Regions from separate parts of the Homo sapiens genome. Here all the other regions are linked to region 2. Evidence: promoter capture Hi-C in 16 types of primary human blood cells and fetal thymus (Javierre and others, 2016). All regions are on one chromosome and are shown on one strand. The core of a region is centred on a gene start or on the middle of the fragment in contact, and the rest is flanking DNA. Distances in the headings are between cores, read along the strand shown.

The links. Contacts are between HindIII fragments. The CHiCAGO score rates a contact against its expected background, and 5 or more counts as called.
Region 1: a fragment that was not itself captured here is called in contact with the fragment with the promoter of ELMO3 in region 2 in 15 of 17 cell types (M1 macrophages, M0 macrophages, erythroblasts and 12 more); the score reaches 11.8 in M1 macrophages.
Region 3: a fragment that was not itself captured here is called in contact with the fragment with the promoter of ELMO3 in region 2 in 1 of 17 cell types (M1 macrophages); the score reaches 5.0 in M1 macrophages.

What each region holds. Positions count from the first base shown.
Region 1 is chr16:66,937,199-66,940,411 of GRCh38, forward strand. CES2 (carboxylesterase 2) reads left to right here. Exons shown (of 12, transcript NM_001365405.1): 2 at 839-1,043; 3 at 2,019-2,160; 4 at 3,024-3,157. Among named protein-coding and RNA genes, the nearest start is that of CES2, 3.3 kb to the left of the region's middle. The HindIII fragment of the contact is 939 bases long and covers 1,330-2,268 here.
Region 2 is chr16:67,197,018-67,200,485 of GRCh38, forward strand. ELMO3 (engulfment and cell motility 3) reads left to right here and starts at 2,114. Exons shown (of 20, transcript NM_024712.5): 1 at 2,114-2,387; 2 at 2,536-2,576; 3 at 2,667-2,739; 4 at 2,934-2,984; 5 at 3,175-3,344; 6 at 3,434-3,468. The coding sequence starts at 2,310. E2F4 (E2F transcription factor 4) reads left to right here. Exons shown (of 10, transcript NM_001950.4): 8 at 582-629; 9 at 850-894; 10 at 991-1,901. The coding sequence ends at 1,106. RefSeq lists a silencer at 1,450-1,509. The HindIII fragment of the contact is 7,654 bases long and covers 1-3,468 here.
Region 3 is chr16:66,902,436-66,905,621 of GRCh38, forward strand. LOC107984821 (a long non-coding RNA gene) reads right to left here and starts at 2,825. Exons shown (of 3, transcript XR_001752244.2): 1 at 2,656-2,825. RefSeq lists an enhancer at 738-3,186. The HindIII fragment of the contact is 9,071 bases long and covers 1-3,186 here.

The sequences.
Region 1 (3,213 bases), core at 549-3,048, 260 kb before region 2:
TTTTGGGTTGGACCCACATTCAGAAAAAATAATTGACAAGCCATAGGAGGGTACAGGTGATGTGTGCCATCCTCTTTTTACCCAACCAGTCCTGGCTTCTCCTCAGGGGCCATCAAAGTCCCCATGGCCCACACTGGAAACTGCTTGTTGACACCGCAGTACACACAGTGCCCAGCAGTTTACACAAGAATAGATGTGTGCACTTGTCCTTGATTTTCATCTAAACAGTCATAAACTCACCCACTTTCTGGAGCCAGGCTTTTCTACAGCTGGGACTACAGGCATGCACCACCACACCCCGCCAATTTATTTCCTGATTTTTTTGCAGAGACAGAGTCCCACTATGGTCCCCAGGCCAGTCACTGTGCTTTTTATATCCCAGCCACAGCCATACTTTTCTCTTGCACCTCTTTTCACCAACATCACTCATGGTTTGGATGATGCTTTCTTTACATGATTTCTTGCCACTTTGGACATGACATCCCTGAGGACAAGAAACTTGCCTGCCCAATTCCCACCATCATCCTACTGTCACATGACCTGGCACACAGTTGAAGGACACTCTAGTCCCATCAAGGGCATGTGACCCTTTGTTTGAAGGTCCTAGGGCTGAATGATGATGCCTGGCCCCAAGGAGCCTCAGCCTGGTGGGATGGAGACAGGCCCAGGAAGCCAGAGCGGGAAGGGAGTGTTACAGGCAGGAAGTTTGTAAAGCCCATGTTTACAGATCAGAGTCCCTTGAGCTAAGATGAGGATGGCAAGGAAGCAGCAATACCAACAGTTGGGAGGGCAGTCGATTGGTCAAACCCAACCGTGATGTCTGTCTCTCTGCCCACAGGCCAGGACTCAGCCAGTCCCATCCGGACCACACACACGGGGCAGGTGCTGGGGAGTCTTGTCCATGTGAAGGGCGCCAATGCCGGGGTCCAAACCTTCCTGGGAATTCCATTTGCCAAGCCACCTCTAGGTCCGCTGCGATTTGCACCCCCTGAGCCCCCTGAATCTTGGAGTGGTGTGAGGGATGGAACCACCCATCCGGCCATGTAAGCTCTCCAAGGGGTCCAGGGAACTCCAGGCCCTGGGGCAGGGGTGGGGGTGCTCTGAGCTCAGCTAGGCTGCAGTTATCATTTCATCTAAACCCCCACAGCCAGTTTTCCTTCTGAGTTTCGTGGATTCCCACGTGCATTTTTCCAATGAGCATGCTGAGGCTCAGGAGGGCAGAATAACTTCTCAGACTCCTGGATCAGGGCTTGGCATTCAGAAGACATTGGCTCCAGGTGCCGAAGGGAGGGGCAGACACACGTATCTCCCCAGATTCTGGTTATGCCAAGCTTTCTCTGCCACCAGTGGCAGGTGTCTCTGGGAAAGGTTCGGGTTGGCTCTATGAACCTTGTAGGAGCCCCTAACTCTAGTGGCAGATGTTGCAAATACCTGAAGAGAACAGTAGTGGTAGCTTTCTGGGGACCTGCACTCTCCACAGGCACTGTGTCCACTGACAGGACCAGGAGCCATTGGCCAAGAGACATGTATATGTATATGTATATGTTTCCAACTGGAGGCCATGTAGGAATGATGAGTTTTTGAGAGTTTAGACTTGGGATGAGAGACATCCCACTGCCCTTCTCATGAGAAATTAACATCCATTCACTCATGTAGCACACATATGTGGGCTACTCCCCTGTCCCAGGCCTTACGGGTTACAGGAATATAGTGGTGAATGTCAACACATGCAGCCAATGGTTCTCATAGAAACCCCTAAGAGTCAAGGTTTCCGGCAGTGCGAGGAATGATACCCAAGGTCCTCAGTAACCTCGAGGCCTCCCTGGAAGTCCAAGCTGCATCCCAGCTTCCCCAGAGCCTGTGGCCTGTAACTTGGTGGGAAGGGATTTTTGAGAGGGATCATGTGTGAGCAGGATATTGTGGGAAGGGTCTGAGGGTGGCTGGGAGCACCTCTGAACCCAGGGTCTGGTTTTGGCCACAGCCTGGCCCCTGGACTGATTATTTGCCCTGGTTACCAGGTGTCTACAGGACCTCACCGCAGTGGAGTCAGAGTTTCTTAGCCAGTTCAACATGACCTTCCCTTCCGACTCCATGTCTGAGGACTGCCTGTACCTCAGCATCTACACGCCGGCCCATAGCCATGAAGGCTCTAACCTGCCGGTGGGTGTCAGGCCACAGTTCACTGGGGGTTGGAGGACAGTTCTTCTGCAAGAAGCTGAAAAGGACAATATTAGCTCAGGCCCTGCTTCAGAGTGGACCATGCTGAGAAGCTTCTCACTGTCAGGTCCAAGAAATGCTCCTTACCCAGACTGGGCAGCTGGCCCCTGGACATGGGGTCACAGAGTTCTGGCTGCTCCCAGAGGTCAAAGGCTGTGGCTCTGGGCTGGACCCAGGACTCACTCAGCCAACTCATGCCAGGAGATCCACTTAAGTGCCAAAGGGCTGCACCTTGAGGTGACCAAGAACCCCAGCCATGGATAATCTGTTGGGCCTATAGAATGGGCACACACAAAAACTTTTTTTCTTAGAGATGGCATCATGCTCTGTTGCCCAGGCTAAAATGCAGTGGCATGAACATACCTCTCTGTAACCTCGAAATCCGGGATGATCCTCTCAGATTAGCCTCCCGAGTAGCTGGGACTACTGGCCTATTCCACCATGCCTGGCTCATTTTTAAAACATTTTCTGTTGAAACGGGGTCTCACTATGTGGTTCAGGCTAAGGACATTTTTGGTTAATGTTCATGTGGAGCCATCAGGGAGACACCCCTTTTCTTTCCACTTTGGTGAATTATCTGGGGTTAATGAACCCAGGCTTTGATACAGGGGGTTCGATTGCAAAGATTGGGAGGCCTGGTCTTCCTGATAGATCTTGGGTGCCTAACCATTTGCCCATGTAATGAATTTGTGCTGGAGATCTAATGGGGAGGTAGACAGAGGCAAAGCACTGGTTGGTCTAGGTAGTGGCCCTGGTGGGGTTTGGGCTGGGTGGGAGCATCATGGTAGCTGCCTTGATTTCCCCAGGTGATGGTGTGGATCCACGGTGGTGCGCTTGTTTTTGGCATGGCTTCCTTGTATGATGGTTCCATGCTGGCTGCCTTGGAGAACGTGGTGGTGGTCATCATCCAGTACCGCCTGGGTGTCCTGGGCTTCTTCAGGTGAGACTAGGGCTGGGCTGGGCAACCCGGGCTGAGCGGGGCCAGGACAGCCCTGT
Region 2 (3,468 bases), core at 864-3,363:
GGCCTGACAGAAAAATGTGGCATTTCTCTGTTTGCAAAAGTACCTTTAATGGCTCCTTGAGGGCCACCAGATAAGATCTGAACTCCTGAGCCTGGCATGTGAAATCCCTCATAGTCCTCTCTGGTTGCATTTTCTTCTGCTTCCCCTGTGTCCTCCTGGCCAGAGGTTTGTAGTGGAGTCATCACCCTGTAGCGCCACCACCTCTGCCTGGTGACCTGACCCAGGGTCTGGTCTCAGTCTTGCACAGAGCAGGTGCTCAGCAAGGGTGGGACAGATGGGGTACCTTCTGTCAGACAGGGGGTGCATGCTGAGCCCAGAAAGAGGCTTCTGTGGCCTTTCCGAGTTAGAAAAGCTGTACCAATCGCTTGCAGGGGGCCTTTGGTACCCTGGGCTCAGCACTGAGGAATTCAGGTTTAGCAAGTGAGGCCAACAGACAGTGCCAGCTTGGCCTAGGCAGGACCTACATCTCCTTAGCTGTGTGGAGCCTCAGGGTGGGTGGTATAGGATCCGAGGAAGCCAGGGGGCTGTAGTGGGGCCAGGCTGGACCTCTGTGCCCTGAGCATGGCTTTCTTGTTTTTCAGTTTTGGAACTCCCCAAAGAGCTGTCAGAAATCTTTGATCCCACACGAGGTAGGCTGCTGCATTCCTCCCTGAGGCTAGGGGTAAGGGACACAGCTCATTGGGTCCTATGGCTGTTTTCTTGCCCTTTTGAGGACCTTGTTGTGGCGCTTATGGTAACTGGGGCAAAGGGTGAAGTTCCTGATGGGCAGGTGGGGTTCCCTTTCCTGGGCTTTGGTGGGTGGAGAGGTGGGAGCTGGAATGTTAGTAACTGAGCTCCCTCCATTCCCAGAGTGCATGAGCTCGGAGCTGCTGGAGGAGTTGATGTCCTCAGAAGGTGGGTGGCCCTGGAAGGTGGGAGTGGGTGTGGGCAGGGGTTGGGCTGCTGCTAGGGGAGCCCTGGCCCAGGGCCTGAGACTAGTGCTCTCTGCAGTGTTTGCCCCTCTGCTTCGTCTTTCTCCACCCCCGGGAGACCACGATTATATCTACAACCTGGACGAGAGTGAAGGTGTCTGTGACCTCTTTGATGTGCCTGTTCTCAACCTCTGACTGACAGGGACATGCCCTGTGTGGCTGGGACCCAGACTGTCTGACCTGGGGGTTGCCTGGGGACCTCTCCCACCCGACCCCTACAGAGCTTGAGAGCCACAGACGCCTGGCTTCTCCGGCCTCCCCTCACCGCACAGTTCTGGCCACAGCTCCCGCTCCTGTGCTGGCACTTCTGTGCTCGCAGAGCAGGGGAACAGGACTCAGCCCCCATCACCGTGGAGCCAAAGTGTTTGCTTCTCCCTTTCTGCGGCCTTCGCCAGCCCAGGCTCGGCTGCCACCCAGTGGCACAGAACCGAGGAGCTGCCATTACCCCCCATAGGGGGCAGTGTCTTGTTCCTGCCAGCCTCAGTGTCTTGCTTCTGCCAGCTCCTTCCCCTAGGAGGGAAGGGTGGGGTGGAACTGGGCACATGCCAGCACCACTTCTAGCTTCCTTCGCTATCCCCCACCCCCTGACCCTCCAGCTCCTCCTGGCCCTCTCACGTGCCCACTTCTGCTGGGCCTTTAGCCCTAGAACCTGCAGGTGGTGGGGGCGGCTACCAAGAAGGAACAGAGGTCTCTGGGGAGGAGTCTGGGTGGTCCAGCCCTGATGATTGGCCCCACCTCCTGCTGCCCCATAACCCTCTCTTCATTTCGGCTTTTTCATTTACCCTCATTTAGAGCCATTTGCAGAGATTTAGAAAGATTTACAGTAACGAATGGATTCCTATATAAAGATTATTTTTATACTTTTTGCAGCAAAAGGAAATTGTAATATTTGTACAGTGTTCAAGTGAATAAAAACCATGCCTAAGGCTAGCTCTGATGTGGTTCTTTGGGGACCCTCCTTGGGACTGTGCTGGACTGGCAGTGTGATTGGGTGGGTCACCTTGCTGGAACTAGGGGTGGGGCGGCCTCCGGCAGCCTGCCCTCCCCGCCCCCACCTGCCGCACCTTGGTGTGGGGCGGGGCCGCCTCGGCGGGGCGGGGCAGGCGGAGCCGTCCTACCTTCCTACCCCCAGACTCCAACCCGGAACTAACCTCGGCTCCCTTGGGAAGGCCGCGTTGCATGGCCAGGAGCAGCAGTCTGGGCCGCGAGTGCGGGACACCGAGGTCAGGTCTCGGAAAGGGAGGACCTCCTCGTCCCCAGGGGCCCCAGGCCAGGTGCACCCTTGGCCGCAGGTGCACGGTCTCCGGAAAGTGCAGGCGCCCACGTCCCAGCTGGACCATGGCGCCTCCGCGGAACGTGGTGAAGATTGCCATCAAGATGCGTGACGCCATCCCGCAGCTCATCCAGCTGGACCAGGTCACCCGGCTGGTCCCGCCTCCATCTGCCCCACTGCCCCACCTCCCGGTAGCCCCCTGGCCCTCGGGGCAGCCCGCCCCACCCCTCCCCCCAGGCTCCTCCCCATCCCTCCCTGCCCAGGCCGCGAGAATGACCACTCCACTTGCAGGCGAAGCCCCTGGCCGCTGTGCTGAAGGAGGTGTGCGACGCGTGAGTGCTGCCGGGCCAGGGCCTGCGGAGGGCGGGAGGGCAGGAGGGGCGGCGCCCCCTGCCGGCCTCGCTGAGCCTCGTGCCCCTCAGGTGGAGCCTGACGCACTCTGAGCGTTACGCCCTGCAGTTTGCGGATGGGCACCGGAGATACATCACCGAGAATGTGAGTCCCCTCTCCCCAGCCCCAAGCTCGGCCTTCCGACCCCTCTAACCCACCTGGCCCCGATAACTCTGGCTCTTCATCCCACTACCGGAGCGCGATCTGTTATTCACCCCCAGCCGCCCTCACCGACACCCCAGTTGATCAGTCCTCGGAGCCCTCCCTGACCTCGCTGCCTTTTCTGCTGTCTTCTCCAGAACCGCGCGGAGATCAAGAATGGCAGCATCCTGTGCCTCAGCACGGCCCCAGTAATGCCCCTCCCGTCCCGCCTTCCCCATCCCTGCCCCTTTGCTCCAGGTCCAGAGGCCCCCCGCCCCGGAGGCCCCCGCCCCAGCCCTGCCTTGCGCCACCTAGTTGACGCCCGGGGCCGCACACTTCCAGGTCCCACCCTTACCATGCCCAGCCTCTTCACCTCTGCTCCTGCTCCGTTCCTGCCAGGACCTTGAGGCTGAGCAGCTCTTGGGTGGGCTGCAGAGTAACAGTCCTGAAGGGCGCCGGGAAGCCCTGAGGCGCCTTGTTCCGCTGGCCTCGGACATGATCTTTGCCAGGGAGGTCATCAGCCGTAATGGGCTCCAGATACTAGGCACCATCATTGAAGATGGGGACGAGTGAGCACAGGGATGTGTGGGCTGGGGGAGATGGTGGGTCTTTCTGGTCCTGGGGTGGTCCTGCTCAGCCCCAGATGTCCCCCCTCCAGCCTAGGAGAGGTGCTGGCCCTCAGCCTGAGGGCCT
Region 3 (3,186 bases), core at 430-2,929, 300 kb before region 2:
GTCAACCCCAAAAGCCTTATATAGAAGGGGGGATTCCTGTATGGAGTGGAGCACAGAGACATAGAGGGCACCCCAGCAGACTGAGAGGGGCTGCTTTCTGCTGAAACTAGGCGTGTACACATGTATGGGGATGGGGTGGGAAGGGTCATGTCCCGAACCCAGTAACATAAAATAAATGCATAGAAAAAAGACTGGAAAGAAATCTGGTAAAAACATAACTATAACAACAAAACCAAGAATGACTGCAGCTGTAATGACAATAATAACAGAAGCTGTTCCATTTTTTGAGAGCCAATTATGTGCCAGCCTCTGTGCTAAGTAAGGGCTTTGCTTGTATTATCTCAGTTAATCCCCACAGCATGCTCTTCTCTGGGTGGGGGTGGGTGGGCAGTGGCCTGTGGGGTGTGCTCTGTAAATGTGGTTGTTTTCTGCCAGGTCTGCAGCTTCCGCAGAGGTAGACAGAGGAGCCCTTAGGCCCCATCTATAGGAGATGTCGTGCTCTCCTTGCCAGCAATGCAGGGTGTGAGATGGGATGGCCAGCCCCCTTGGGGATGCCTTCGGGGAGCCAGCCAGGCCCACTGAGCTAACCTCAGCCCCCACTTGGCCCTACTCCTCTAGGCGTTGGGGCTCAAAATAGCAGCTGCTCGAGAGCTGACAATCAAAGGCCAGCTAAAAAAAGGCCCCTCAGTCTGGGCTCTGTCGCACACGGCTCGTAGAGCCTATTTTAGGGGAGAGGGTGCCGACATGCCAGTGGAAAATCCATAGGGCGGGAGTCTCCCAAAGTGGGAGACCCATATGCCTCCCTCTCCCCACTCTGGCCCCCCCACCCAAGTGCTCACGTGCACACACACTCACATTTTGCAGCCGTCAGCCTGCTTCCTGACCACTGGACCCTGTCATCTCCACCACAGCCCAGGAGAGGGATGAGGAAATTGAGGCTCAGAGATGGGAATTGACTTGCCCAAGATCACGAGGCTGGGAAGTAGGCAGGACAGCCACCAGATGGGGCCACTGTGGCTCACAGTTCAGTGCTCTCCCGTGGAAGAAGCCACATCACTGAGGAAGCCAATACATTGTTCTCTGGAGTGCCCAAAGCTCAGAGATGGGGCCAACGGTGGGGTGTTCTGGGTTGGACTGAGGGTGAGTAGGAGCTGAGGGTGACCTGTGGTCTTAGTCTCCGCATGGGAAGAAATCTCACTAGAACCCCCCAGGCCAATTCTGAGGGGACCTTGCCTGGCTGTGGGAGAGGCAGCTGGAGCGGGTCCTCATCGGCACTGAGCCCAGCCCAGCCCCCTCATCCTATCCCTGTGACCACCTCACGCCCTGCCCCGCCCAGGCCCCCAGAGGCTGGCAGGCCCTGCCAAGTTTCCAGGGAATGTGTCAGATAAAGGGCTGGTGCTCATGACTCTCTCCCACGTAGCAGCTATCTCTGACCCTACTGCCACTACCACTGCCACCGCCACTGGGAGGTGGATAAGAATAGCAACAGCCCCAGTGAGTGGGCACCCACAGGGACACAAACCATGTCTTTAGGTGTCCAGCCTCAGCCTCAGACTGAGGATGAGTCTCCAGGTTCCCCTTTCCATCAGTTCCAGCCCCACCTAGCTCCCCCATCATCCTGGGCCCAAAATCCTACCACATCTTAGGGTAAAACTCCAAGCCTCATCCCTTGTGGCTGCTGCCTCAGCAGGGGGAATCTGGAGGGGATGCCATCGCCACATTGATCCTGAGCTGGGGCCTGAGCCCTGCCCTTCACTGGGGAGCTGTATGACATGGAGCTGGACATTGTCCCTCTCAGGGCCCACAAGCAGGGCAAGGTGGCACAGCAGCCCCTGGAGAATGAGATAGCCAGCCGAGGCCTCTCCAGGGGCTGGGTACCCCGTTGTCCTGGTGACCACAGTCTAGTCTGGCTTCTGAGTGCCCCTGTGAATTCTGGCTTTCTGGTCAGTGGGGATGTGAAGACAGTGAGGGTCCTCATGTCTCACAGATAGGGGTCACTGGGATACGACCACTGGGTGGTGTTGGGGGGGCCCTGCATGAGTCCTGTGACACTCCTGTGAGGGTGTGAGGGTAGCTGCGTGACTACAAGGTAAGAGGCTGTTGTCATGGAACCCATGGTGAGCGTAGTTGTGACACCGGAATCGGGAGATCCAGGGAGCCTCATCTCCAACTGTGACACATGGGGGTGATGGAGGGAGCCGAGTCCCAGTCCCCACATCAGTGACTCCTGCAGCTCTCACAGCCTGACTCATTGCATGGCCCCGGACCTGGTACCCCCAGCCTCCTCGCCCCCGGCTCTGGCGCCTTTCTCTCCTCGCGTCCTCCCTGTTCTCAGGCGACTCTTCCTCTTTTGTACCCCCCCCATGTCACCCACCTACCAAAGGGGTCCCAGGGAGGAGGTCAGGGATGCTAGGGAAGAACGAGGAAGGGTGGGCCGAGGCAAGCTCCTCGCACACTCACACATTCCGATGCGTGCATCACACAGACCAGACTGCAGCATATACTTATACACCCACAGACACACGTGTGCACACACGCCTGGTAGAGTGACTGGGCCACTAAGAAGCCTCCCAAGCTCAGTCTTCCAACATCAGCCCTGTCTGGTAGGCCCCCACCACCCCTTAAGTCAGGGTCCCATGCCGCTGAGGCCCTCACATTAGAAACGCATCCTCCCGCCGCAGCAGTGTGTCTGGAGGTGACACCCTAGGAAGAACTTCTGCCCCGAGGCCCCAGCTAGAGTCCTGGGTGGGTGTAGGTAGATGTGGGTGGGGTGGGGTCTCTGAGGGCCCGAGACTGTTGCTTTCTTTGTGGGTGAGGGCCAGACTGACCTCTGGGCCTCCGGCTTCAAGAGCCCTAATCGCTGGGGCTGGAAAAAGTTTAAAAATATCCTCATGTTTACATTCTTTCCAAGCTGCCTCCTGATCCTCCGTGCTGGGTCCCTTTGATCTGGCCCAGTGCCTCTGGAAGGGGCCTGGGAGAAGGGGAGCATGAGGCCTCTGCTGGGGCCCACCCCTCAACCCCCTCCAGCTCCAGCCCAGAACCCTGTGAGACCCTGGACATCACAGACCCTAAGAGCACCTGGGCACTGGAAGGGAGCTGGGGCTGGAAGGGGTGTCTTGCACTCTTGCTTTGGGGCTGGAGCTGGGGCCCCTCTCCAAACTCCCTCCCAAAAGCCTGGGCCTCTTG